Regions from separate parts of the Homo sapiens genome. Here all the other regions are linked to region 2. The links are contacts of gene promoters, found by promoter capture Hi-C in human tissues and cell types (Jung and others, 2019). All regions are on one chromosome and are shown on one strand. The core of a region is centred on a gene start or on the middle of the fragment in contact, and the rest is flanking DNA. Distances in the headings are between cores, read along the strand shown. Region 1 overlaps TRIP4 (thyroid hormone receptor interactor 4). Region 2 holds the start of PPIB (peptidylprolyl isomerase B). Region 3 overlaps CSNK1G1 (casein kinase 1 gamma 1). Region 4 overlaps CSNK1G1 (casein kinase 1 gamma 1).

Region 1 (2,700 bases), core at 166-2,665, 250 kb after region 2:
ATGTGTGTCTCTGTCACTGTGTGCTCTCTCCTCTTACAAGGATACAAGTCATTGGATTTAGGGCCTACTATAATCTAATATAACCTCATCTTAAACTGATTACACCTGTAAAGATTATTTCCAAATAAGGTTGTATTCACAGATTCCATGAACGTGGACATTGATTTTGGGGGGATACTACTCAACCCAGTACAGTAAGCAACACCTGATCATGAAAGATTTTTTGTCTTATGCTAATGAGTTTAGGTTTTGCCCTAAAGTAGGCAAAGAAGGGTTCTGGAAGAATTTTAACAGAAGATTGGCATGGCTTCCATGCCTACGTAGAGAATGGATTGGAGGGAAGAGTAAGTAAGATTAGAAGCTGAGAAATTGCCAAGGTAGTCATTGCAATAGCACCATGGAAAGATGATGCCAGCCCAAATTAGTATTAAAGCACTAGTGGAGCAGTAGAGAGTTATTTAAAGACCAAAAGTGGGAGCCGGGCCTGAGATGTAGTGATACACATCTATAGTCCCAGATACTTGGGAAGCTGAGGTGGGAGGATCACTTGAGACCAGGAGTTGGAGGCTGCAGTGAGCTATGATTAAGCCACCACACTCCAGCCTGGATGACACAGTGAGACCCCATCTCTAAAAAAAAATAATTATCATCATAAAGACTAAAAATGTAGATGAAGAGACCTGCTGGCAGATTCTTTAATAGTATTATCAAAAGATAATGAGGAATTAATTTAGGAAAGTGGCTGTGTAATTAGAGGGAACAGCTGTAGTAGAAATAGAAAAAATAATTTGGGCCTCAAGATTGTTCACATACCAACATTTTATGAAATTATTTATTTCCAGCCAGGTGTGGTGGCTCACGTCTGTAATCCTAGCATTTTGGGAGGCTGAGGAAGGAGGATCACTTGAAGCCAGGAGGTCAAGACCAGCCTGGGCAACAGAGCAAGACAGTGTCTCAAAAAAAATTTTTTTTAAAGAAATTATTTATTTACCCTATAATGGATCAATTCTTTTTCCTCTTTGGTCCTCTGTAAAAACTTCTATCTCCTATTTAGTATGTAGTCAATTCTGCCTTATGTTTTGAATAGTTATTTATGTGTCTGTCTTCCACTAGGCTTTAAGTTCCTTGCAAGCAAGAACCGTATCTTTTTCATATTTTATGTCTCCCTAGTTAATGTGCTTTTCACAGTTAAGTACTCAATAAATGTGTATTTAATTTGTAAAAATGTGTATTTTTAAGATATGCCACAATTGACAAGAATCATAAAATTGTATGGCAGAAAGATCCTTAGAAATTTATTTAGTCCAACTTCATCCTTTTCCAGTTTGAAAAACTGAAATCTTTAGGGGTTAAATGCCTAGGGTTTCGACTACCACTAGAAGTTTTTTCCTATAAGTTATTTTATGTTCATTTTTATTTATTTTTGAGACAGGATATTGTTCTGTCATCCAGGCTAGAGTGCAGTGGTATGATCATAGCTCACTGCAGCCTCCACCTCCCAGGCTCGAGAGATCCTCCCATCTCAGCTTCTCAAGTGGCTCAGACTACAGTAGCCACGTGCCATCATACCTTACTAATTTGTATATTTTTTTGTAGAGAAGGAGTTTCGCCTTGTTGCCCAGGTTGGTCTTAAACTTCTGGGCTCAAGCGATCCTCCTGCCTTGGCCTCCTTAAGTGCTGGGATTACAGACATCGGCCATCATGCCTGGCCCTTATTATTATTTTTAAAGACACAGGACCTCACCATGTTGCCCAGGCTGGCCTTGAACTTATGGGCTCAAGTGATCCTCCTGCCTCACCTCCTGAGTAACTAGTGAAGCTACAGGCATGCTTCACTGTGTTCAGCTTTATAAATTATTAATTTTTTAAAAAAGATAACCCCAAATATCATCATGCTAATTGCCTTTATTTTTAAATTTTAATTTTGGAGGACATGGTATCGTTGCTCTGGAAGAAACATTAACCTTTGCCATTCTCTGTCTGAACTGTTGCCAAGACTCTTCACTCTCCTGTAATTACCTGTACCTTATAATTCTCTATTCTTTTTATATGATGGGAGCCCTGTTTTAGTAGTCCTCCACCCTCTCTTTCAGGAGACAAGTTCTTCATTTCAGGGTAAGAGAATATTTCATGCATCCAGTAGTCAGAACTGCTGCCTCTGACCTGACAACATCTGTTTGGCTTTGTCATGGTGCCAGCATGTGACACTGCCCCTAAGCACATGCAGAATTGTGGACCAAAATGTTGAACTTTCATTTAGCTCACAGAATTCTATTGAAAAATTATCCAGAACCAAGTATGGATCATTAAGTATAAATTGGAAATAATTATAGCTCTTTTGGTGTGATATTTGTGCTGTTGCTGGAATTAGTAAGCATTGTATGGAGATTTCAACATTCTAATTATTCTTTAAGATGGGCCTTGTTATCATACCTGAGACTTCTACTGAATGTATACTATCTCTACCCTTTTGGCCTTATTGCAGACAAAGATGGGATTATTTTTCATTTGTTGTTGTTGTTGTTGTTGTTCTGAGACAGAGTCTCTCTTGCCCAGGCTGGAGTGCAGTGGCACAATCTTGGCTCATTGCAACCTCCACCTCCTGGGTTCAAATGATTCTCCTGCCTCTGCCTCATGAGTAGCTGGGATTATAGGCACCTGCCACCACGCCCAGCTAATTTTTGTAGTTTTAGTAGAGAT
Region 2 (2,700 bases), core at 3-2,502:
TGTTGCTCAGGTTGGCCTTGAACTCCTGGGCTCAAGCAATCCTCCTACTTTGGCCTCCAAAAGTGCTGGGATTTTAAGTGTGAGCCACTGTGCCTGGTCAGGGCCCCATTACTCTTAAGAAAGGGCAATACTGTGTTCCCAGGGCAACAGGCAGTCGGTGCTCAGTGAGGTCCACGCTACAGATCGGCTGAACTCTGCAGGTCAGTTTGCTGCCATCCCCAGTGCCAATTTCACTTCATGTGAGTTGACTACCCCTGCTCCAGCCACTTACCTCTCCTGTAGCTAAGGCCACAAAATTATCCACTGTTTTTGGAACAGTCTTTCCGAAGAGACCAAAGATCACCCGGCCTACATCTTCATCTCCAATTCGTAGGTCAAAATACACCTGAGGAAAGAGACCATTTCCAACTTAGCTTCTTTAAAGGGGCGTTGCTAGGGGAGGGAAGGTACAAGAAGCTAACCTGAGGATGGGAGAGAGAATAGAGCCATATTTTTAGAGAAGTGGTTCTGAATCTGATTTTGGTGACGGTAAAAATCCTATGAGAATCTAATGAAAGCTCCAGACCCTTTTCTTGGAAAACATGCTTATCTATACCCTCCTTGGACTACAGGATAACAATATTTGCTCTAAACAGCTAATGGACCCAGATTCTAAAAATTAACATTAGAAAACCCATAAGGAGCGGAGCCTAAGTTCACCACTTAAGTTTGAAGTATACATACTGTGCTTTGTAATTGGAAGTGGCTAAAATTTGGCTTAAGGAGAGAAAGGATTCGGAATCCGGCAGGCGTGATCTTTCACCATCTCCCCAGCACTGAGGGGTGTTTGCAAAAAGCCTGCTCTGAGACTGCCAGTGTCGGCCCCAGATGGGTATCCGGGGATCCAACTAACTCCCTGGGTCAGGGCAGGGGCTGGGGGTGTCGGGGTGGGTCCGGGTCGTTCCCTGGACTGAATGGGCAGGACGGCCCAGACGCCACGAGGCCACAGACAGAAGCCGAGGGAGGAGGGGCTGAGCCAAGGCCAAGCCAAGGCCGCCCGGGCCCGAGCTCCGGCACCGTAAATGCCGCGGACTCCACCGGACCTTGACGGTGACTTTGGGCCCCTTCTTCTTCTCATCGGCCGCAGAAGGTCCCGGCAGCAGCAGGAAGAAGACGGACCCCGCGATGAGGGCGGCGGCAAGGAGCACCTTCATGTTGCGTTCGGAGAGGCGCAGCATCCACAGGCGGAGGCGAAAGCAGCCCGGACAGCTGAGGCCGGAAGAGGGTGGGGCCGCGGTGGCTAGGGAGCCGGCGCCGCCACGCGCGGGTGGGGGGGACTGGGGTTGCTCGCGGGCTCCGGGCGGGCGGCGGGCGCCGTTTCCCCCCTCCGGCTCGGCGCCGGATAGTAGGTCCCCCTGCGGGGCGGGCACCGACGCGGGCTCGTGGGTGGTTGCCACGTTATTGCTCCCTCATTGGGCTCCCGGCCGCCCTCTCCCGCCCACAGGAAGGCCACCGGCGGAAGGCGGCCTCGCAGAGCACGGGCCCGGGCTCCGAGAAGACCACAAGCCCCGGCATGCTCCGCGGCCCGCCCCGCCCGGAGCGCTGTTCCACTGGCCTGCGGTAGCTGGCGCTTGAGGTTAGCAAATACGTGGGCCTGGACAAGGGGCACGGGAAGCTTGTCACTGTTTTGGGCCAGTCAAGTGTTTGTCACCGCCAAATTGGCTCTAAACGTTGTGGCTTCCAAACACTTCAGGGACATTTATCCTTACCGAGCGTGGCCTTGTACGGCTCCTCCACTTGTCTTGCAAAACTTGCTGCACAACCCACTTCCTTTTTTACTGAGGCCGTCAAGTTACTACCCATTTTTCTCTCCCTTCTGTAATCTTGCTGTGCTTACTGTTGTGTATATCAATGGACATCTTATTGTATACGCTGTTCTTAACTTCCTTTACCTTTTCCCCCAATAGACTACATTTTTTTTTTTTTCTGCGGAAGGGACTGTGTTGCATTTACTCTGTCCACAGCTCCCTCACAGCGCGGCAGTACTGAGTGCCCAACAAGTCCTGGTTGGGATAGCTTCACATCCGCACTGACATGAGAAATAATTTATGCCACGGCCTGAGGATACAATGCCTTTTTCCGGAGGTCAGGAATAGTTACTAGATGTCCCCACAGGGCTATTTTAGGTCTTCACACACTTAGTGTTGTCCCAATCTACAACATAGATACTTTGGTACTGGGAGTCTTACACACCAAAACAAACCAAAACACAAACTTCCAAAATTTGGACCTATGGCGTTAAAACGTCTTTAAAACTAATTTTCAACGATTAACTTCGTAGAAATTCCAGGTCGTCACAGCACAGATTATAGGCAGGGCTCCATTTACATAAATTATGCAATGTAGTCTTCATGAGGCGCTGACCTGAGACTGAAGTTATGCAAGGCCACTGGCATTAACTTTGTTGTTCATTACAGCGGCCTTACACAGGTTGTAGAGCTTCAAGACAGTTCTCTTATTTCCCATCCTTGCACCTCAATTCAGACAACCCCAATCAGGAGGAAGTTTTAAACATTGTTATACTGACAAAGATGATCTTCCAGATCCATCTCTCATCCCTTTTTTTTTTTTTTCTCCTATTTTGTTAAGCCTCTTTCTTCACTCACTGGTCTCAGGCTGCCATAGCCAGAGAAAAATGTTTACTAAATCATGTTTTCAAAG
Region 3 (2,700 bases), core at 62-2,561, 170 kb after region 2:
AGCAAAATATCTTACTTTTATGTTTAAAGTTACATAAAATTTTTTAAAAGAATTTTTAGCCCACAAGATAAATGAGATTATGTAAAATGTTCAAACCTAAGAATCACTGGTGTTCCTGAGAGAAAAGAAAAACCAGAAAGTTTGGAAAACTGATTTGAGGGAATAATTGAAGAAAATTTCCCTGACTAGCTGGGAGCAGTGGCCCATGCCTGTAATCCCAGCACTTTGGGAGGCCAAGGTAGATGGATCACCTGAGGTTAGGAGTTCAAGACCAGCCTAGCCAACATGGTGAAATCCTGTCTCTACTAAAAATACAAAACTTAGCCAGGTATGGTGGCGGGCACCTGTAATGCCAGCTACTCGGGAGGCTGAGACAGGTGAATCACTTGAACCCAGGAGGCCAAGGTTGCAGTCAGCCCAGATTGCGCCATTGCACTCCAGACTGAGCAACAAGAGTGAGACTCCATCTCAAAAAAAAAAAAAAAAAAAAAAAAAGGAATGCTAAAAGGAGGTCTAAATCTTGAAACAATGGCTGGGCACAGTGGCTCATGCCTGTAATCCCAGCACTTTGGGAGGCTGAGGTGGGAGGATTACTTGAATCCAGGAGTTCAAGACCAGCCTGGGCAACACAGTGAGACACCATCTCAAAAAAAAAAAAAAAAAAAAAAAAAAGGTCAATATGTACCAGAATAGAAGCTCCTGAAAGCACAAAACTCACAAGGTCTATAAAATAACATAATGAGGACAACAAAGTGTCTAGGTAACAATCAACATGATGACTAAAGCAGTACCTCACATCTCAGTATTAATGCTGAATGTAAATGGTCTTAAATGCGCCACTTAAAAGGTACAAATTGGCAAAATGGATAAAAAATTGGAAACCAAGTATTTGCTGTCTTCAAGAGGCTCACCTAACACCTAAGGATTCCTACATGCAAACGGAAACCAAAAGCAAGAAGTAATAGCTGTTCTTACATCAGATAAAACAGACTTTAAAGAAACAACAGTTTAAAAAGACAAAGTCATTATACAATGATAAAAGGATCAATTTAACAAGATTTTACAATCTTAAACATATATGTACCTAATTCTGGAGCATCTAGATTCATAGAACAATTACTACTAGACCTAAGAAAAGACAGAGACAGCAACACAATAATAATGGGGGACTTCAACACTCCACTGATAGCCCTAGATAGATAGATCTTCGAGCACTAGATAGATCTTAGAGACACAAAGTCAACAAAGAAACACTGGATTTAAACTGCACTTGAGAACAAATGGACCTAACAGATATTTACTGAACATTCTACCCAAGAACTGCAAGATATACAGTCTTCTCATTACCACATGAATCATTCATTACAGGCATGCACTGACCACCACGCCCAGCTAATTTTTTTGTATTTCAGTAGAGATGGTGTTTCACCATGTTGGCCAGGCTGGTCTTGAACTCCTGACCTTAAGTGATATGCCTGCCTCAGCCTGCCAAAGTGCTGGGATTACAGGAGTGAGCCACCGTGCCCAGCCTAAAATCTTTTATCTCAGCAGTCCTCAACCTTTTTGGCACAAGGACCAGTTTTACAGAAGACAATTTTTCCACAGACTGGGGGTGGAGGGCAGGGGGGAATGGTTTAGGGATGATTCAAGCACACTACATTTATTATGCACTTAATTTCCATTATTATTACATTGTACTATGCAATGAAATAATTATTCAACTCACCATAATGTAGAATCAGTGGGAGCCCTGAGCTTGTTTTCCTGCAACTGGATGGTCCTTTCTGCAAGTGATGGGAGACTCTGGCCAATCATCAGGCATTAGATTCTCATAAGGAGTGCATAACCTACATCCCTCTCACGTGCAGTTCACAACAGGGTTCACGCTCCTATGAGAATCTAATGCTGCCATTGATCTGACAGGAGGTGGCGCTCGGGCAGTAATGCAAGTGATGGGGAGTGGCTTTAAATACAGATGAAGCTTCACGCACTCACCTGCCACTCACCTGCCACTCACTTCCTGCTATGCAGCACGGTTCCTAAAGGGCCATGGACCACTACTGGTCTGTGGCCCAGAGCTTCAGGACCCCTGTTTTATCTAACAGATGACAGCAGTTAAACTTACCTTCACCAAAAAGTGTACTTCTATAACTACCTAATTTAGAGTAAGCTTAGAGACCACAATATTATTTCCATTTTTGGTTTCCCTAATAACTCCAGAAGAGTTACTACAAAGATTCAGATTATTGACTTATTTTGCAAGTACTGCTCAGTTCACATAATCTACAAAGAAAATGAGAATCTGCTGCAAATCTATCTGTCATTTCAGAACACATCCTGTGTGAGAAGGGTAGCCTAATACATGCTTTTAGGAAAAACATATTTCAATACCTGATAAAGAGTTTTGTCTACCTCACTAAAAATTTTTTTAAGCAAAGCTAGGCTAAAACAATAAAAACATAACCTTATCTGAGAAGATGGCTTTCCTTCCCTACTCAAGGAAAATAAATAATAAAACAATCAAGATGAAGCCAGTATTGAGGAGCCACAGACACTTCTTACTGGCATAAAAATAAAGTACCACAAAGGTCCTGATCCTCATTTTTCTTTCAATTGTTATACTTTTCCTTAAAAAAAATAAGGGCTTTAATAACTGCACTTTGGTAACAAAGTCAGTCACCATGACTGCCTATAGAAACA
Region 4 (2,700 bases), core at 9-2,508, 140 kb after region 2:
GTAACAGAGCAAGACCCTGTCTCTCAAAAAAAAAAAAAGAATAAGAAGAAATGCACTTGGCTGTTTGACAGACTGTGTGTCTAGGAAAGGAAATTAGTTTAGAGAAGCAGAGCTTTGTAGGTGGTAGCCATGATGTAGGCTGACTGCACCTGCCTTGACTTTGGAATTTTGTAGTTTACAATCTTCTCCTCGCTAATATTAGAACAAGAAAATGACGGAATGGGGTATGCAGCCCACTCTATTGTCAGGAAGATGCCAGATAATTCTGAAAGTATCTTTTCTAGATACAAGGCCATAACAGTATGGTCCCAGGGCTAATGAAAACTTGATAAGCAGAGAAGAGTAAAAGCACATGAAAAGAAAGACAAGTTCTTCTGACTACAGGCAAGTCCAAATGAGAAACATCAAAATTATCTCAGATTCAAAGAGGAAACAAAACACAATACTACTCTGAAAATATATATGGGCTATAAATGTATGCTTTTAACTGAATGAATTTTTCCCTTCCCACGTAAACTTATAATACAAATCTAGACTTCAGTGATTAAACAGATTTCCACTTTTAATTCACCAAGGTTTTTCTTCACTTTCACAGAAATGAAACAATTGTCTGATGTTTTGAGAATTCAAAGATTTAGATGCTTTAGAAACTGCCTCTTAGCAATCATTTTATGGATGTTTATGTCATAATTATTTAATCCATCCAAGTAGTACTGTGATGTTACAGTCAATTTATGACATAAAGAAATATTCACAGAACTATTCGTTAAAGCAACTCTGTGATTGCTAGAAAGTAAAGCAGTAATTACACATCTTACTCGTATTGTAAGTAGCATCTGCTGGCTTTGGTAACCCGAACACAATTCTAAATATAAAGATCCTTTCATTATCCTAATTAAGTCCTGAATTTCCAGGTTGTCAGCCTTCTAACAGTAAAAATAAATCCATTCTCATCATTCTTAAATTCAAATGGTCTCTGGCTAGTATAGTGATGTTTCTCCAAGGCTCTCTATGGGGGATCAGAGATAAGATTTTGTCCATGTTCTCTATGCAGGACCATCACAAGTAGCAGAGGTGGTCAGGCGTAGTGGCTCAGCCTGTAATCCCAGCACTTTGGGAGGCCGAGGCGGGTGGATCACTTGAGGCCAGGAGGTCAAGACCAGCCTGGCCAATATGGCAAGAGCCCGTCTCCACAAAAATACAAAAAAAAAAAAAATAAGCTGGGCATGGTGGCACATGCCTGTAAGTCCCAGCTACTCTGGAGGATGAGGCACAAGAATCACTTGAACCTGGGAAGAGGAGGTTGCAGTGAGCTGAGATCGCACCACTGCACTCCAGCCTGGGTGACAGAGCAACACTCCATCTCAAAAAGAAAAAGAAGTAGCAGAGGTAACAAACATAATTACATTATGTTCCCACCCTCCCACCACTCCCCCCAAAGGGCCAAAGTTTCTTACAATGAGTCTTCACATTAATCCACAGTCTCAAGAGCTATGAAGGAAAAGAAAACACTTTAGCCTAAAAGATGACCTTTCCACATTCTCCAGGCTAATTTCCAACTTCATATATTTATACGGCCTTTTATTTTCTCTATCCCACTCATCAAGGGAGAGCCATTAAAAAGTATATAAATGGCCGGGCGCGGTGGCTCACGCCTGTAATCCCAGCACTTTGGGAGGCCGAGGCGGGCGGATCACGAAGTCAGAGGATCAAGACCATCCTGGCTAACATGGTGAAACCCTGTCTCTACTAAAAATACAAAAACAAAATTAGCCGGGCGTGGTGGCGGATGCCTGTAGTCCCAGCTACTTGGGAGGTTGAGGCAGGAGAATGGCATGAACCCGGGAGGCAGAGCTTGCAGTGAGCCGAGATCGCGCCACTGCACTCCAGCCTGGGCGACAGAGTAAGACTCCATCTCAAAAAAAAAAAAATTTTATATATATATATAAATACCCAATGTACCTTCTTCCCAATCTCACATTTTTAGACAGATTAATTTTGTCATTATTTTCCATCTCACCCATAAATTCATAATTGAAATAGAAAATCCATTGCCTTAGTTGGGAAATAAAATTGCCTAACTTCTCCTTGGAGTTCTAACTTAATTCTAATGCTGGAAACTCCAGGAAGAAACGCAAACAAATTATCTTTTGGAAAATTTCTCCAAACAGGATGTACTGTATATCCTTGCAGACTAAGCCTGGGTATTACTGAGTAAGGATTTACTCTTTTCTTTTCAGGGGCAGAGTCTGAATTAAACCAAGGCCTTATGTCCTTCTTAAAAGACCAACAGCATCTGCATCACCTGGAATTTGTAAAAATATGCAGAATTTGGGGCTCCACCTCAGACATCCTAAATCAGAGTCTGCATTTTACTGATATCTGTATGCAACTCTATGTTCATCAGAAAATCTCAGAACTGGTAGAAAACTTAAAAGCCCATCGCACACACATAAAGAGAGATGAGCCTTGGATAACAAATAATTGATAATGACTATAGTGCCCCTTCACAAATTATTTCTTAACAACAGGTTCTCCTTAAGAAAAATTTCTTGTAAAACTATAAACGGCTTGTCTTGAAACACACCAAAGCTTATCATAGGTATTGTTGTTAGTAGAAGTCACTGACATAACCAAGTGCTTACCTAATCTGAGCTCTCCGAAGTTCCCACATCCTATCTTCTTGCCAACCCTGAAGTT

What was found. Contacts are between HindIII fragments. The study calls those that stand out against the background at their distance.
Region 1: a contact is called between a fragment that was not itself captured here and the fragment with the promoter of PPIB in region 2, in 2 of the 25 tissues and cell types used here (aorta and mesenchymal stem cells).
Region 3: a contact is called between a fragment that was not itself captured here and the fragment with the promoter of PPIB in region 2, in 2 of the 25 tissues and cell types used here (mesenchymal stem cells and mesendoderm cells).
Region 4: a contact is called between a fragment that was not itself captured here and the fragment with the promoter of PPIB in region 2, in 2 of the 25 tissues and cell types used here (lymphoblastoid cells and mesenchymal stem cells).

Annotation. Positions count from the first base shown.
Region 1 is chr15:64,415,601-64,418,300 of GRCh38, forward strand. All of the region lies in intron 8 of TRIP4 (thyroid hormone receptor interactor 4), which reads left to right. Among named protein-coding and RNA genes, the nearest start is that of TRIP4, 29 kb to the left of the region's middle. The HindIII fragment of the contact is 9,009 bases long and covers 1-2,700 here.
Region 2 is chr15:64,161,770-64,164,469 of GRCh38, forward strand. PPIB (peptidylprolyl isomerase B) reads right to left here and starts at 1,253. Exons shown (of 5, transcript NM_000942.5): 1 at 1,083-1,253; 2 at 272-385. The coding sequence starts at 1,217. RefSeq lists enhancers at 1-376, 610-1,110, 918-1,167, 1,111-1,611, 1,718-1,767 and a silencer at 1,218-1,577. The HindIII fragment of the contact is 5,042 bases long and covers 154-2,700 here.
Region 3 is chr15:64,332,788-64,335,487 of GRCh38, forward strand. The region is part of intron 1 of CSNK1G1 (casein kinase 1 gamma 1); the gene reads right to left. Among named protein-coding and RNA genes, the nearest start is that of CSNK1G1, 22 kb to the right of the region's middle. The HindIII fragment of the contact is 3,112 bases long and covers 1-2,700 here.
Region 4 is chr15:64,297,674-64,300,373 of GRCh38, forward strand. It overlaps CSNK1G1 (casein kinase 1 gamma 1), which reads right to left. Exons shown (of 12, transcript NM_022048.5): 2 at 2,646-2,700. Among named protein-coding and RNA genes, the nearest start is that of CSNK1G1, 57 kb to the right of the region's middle. The HindIII fragment of the contact is 7,582 bases long and covers 1-2,700 here.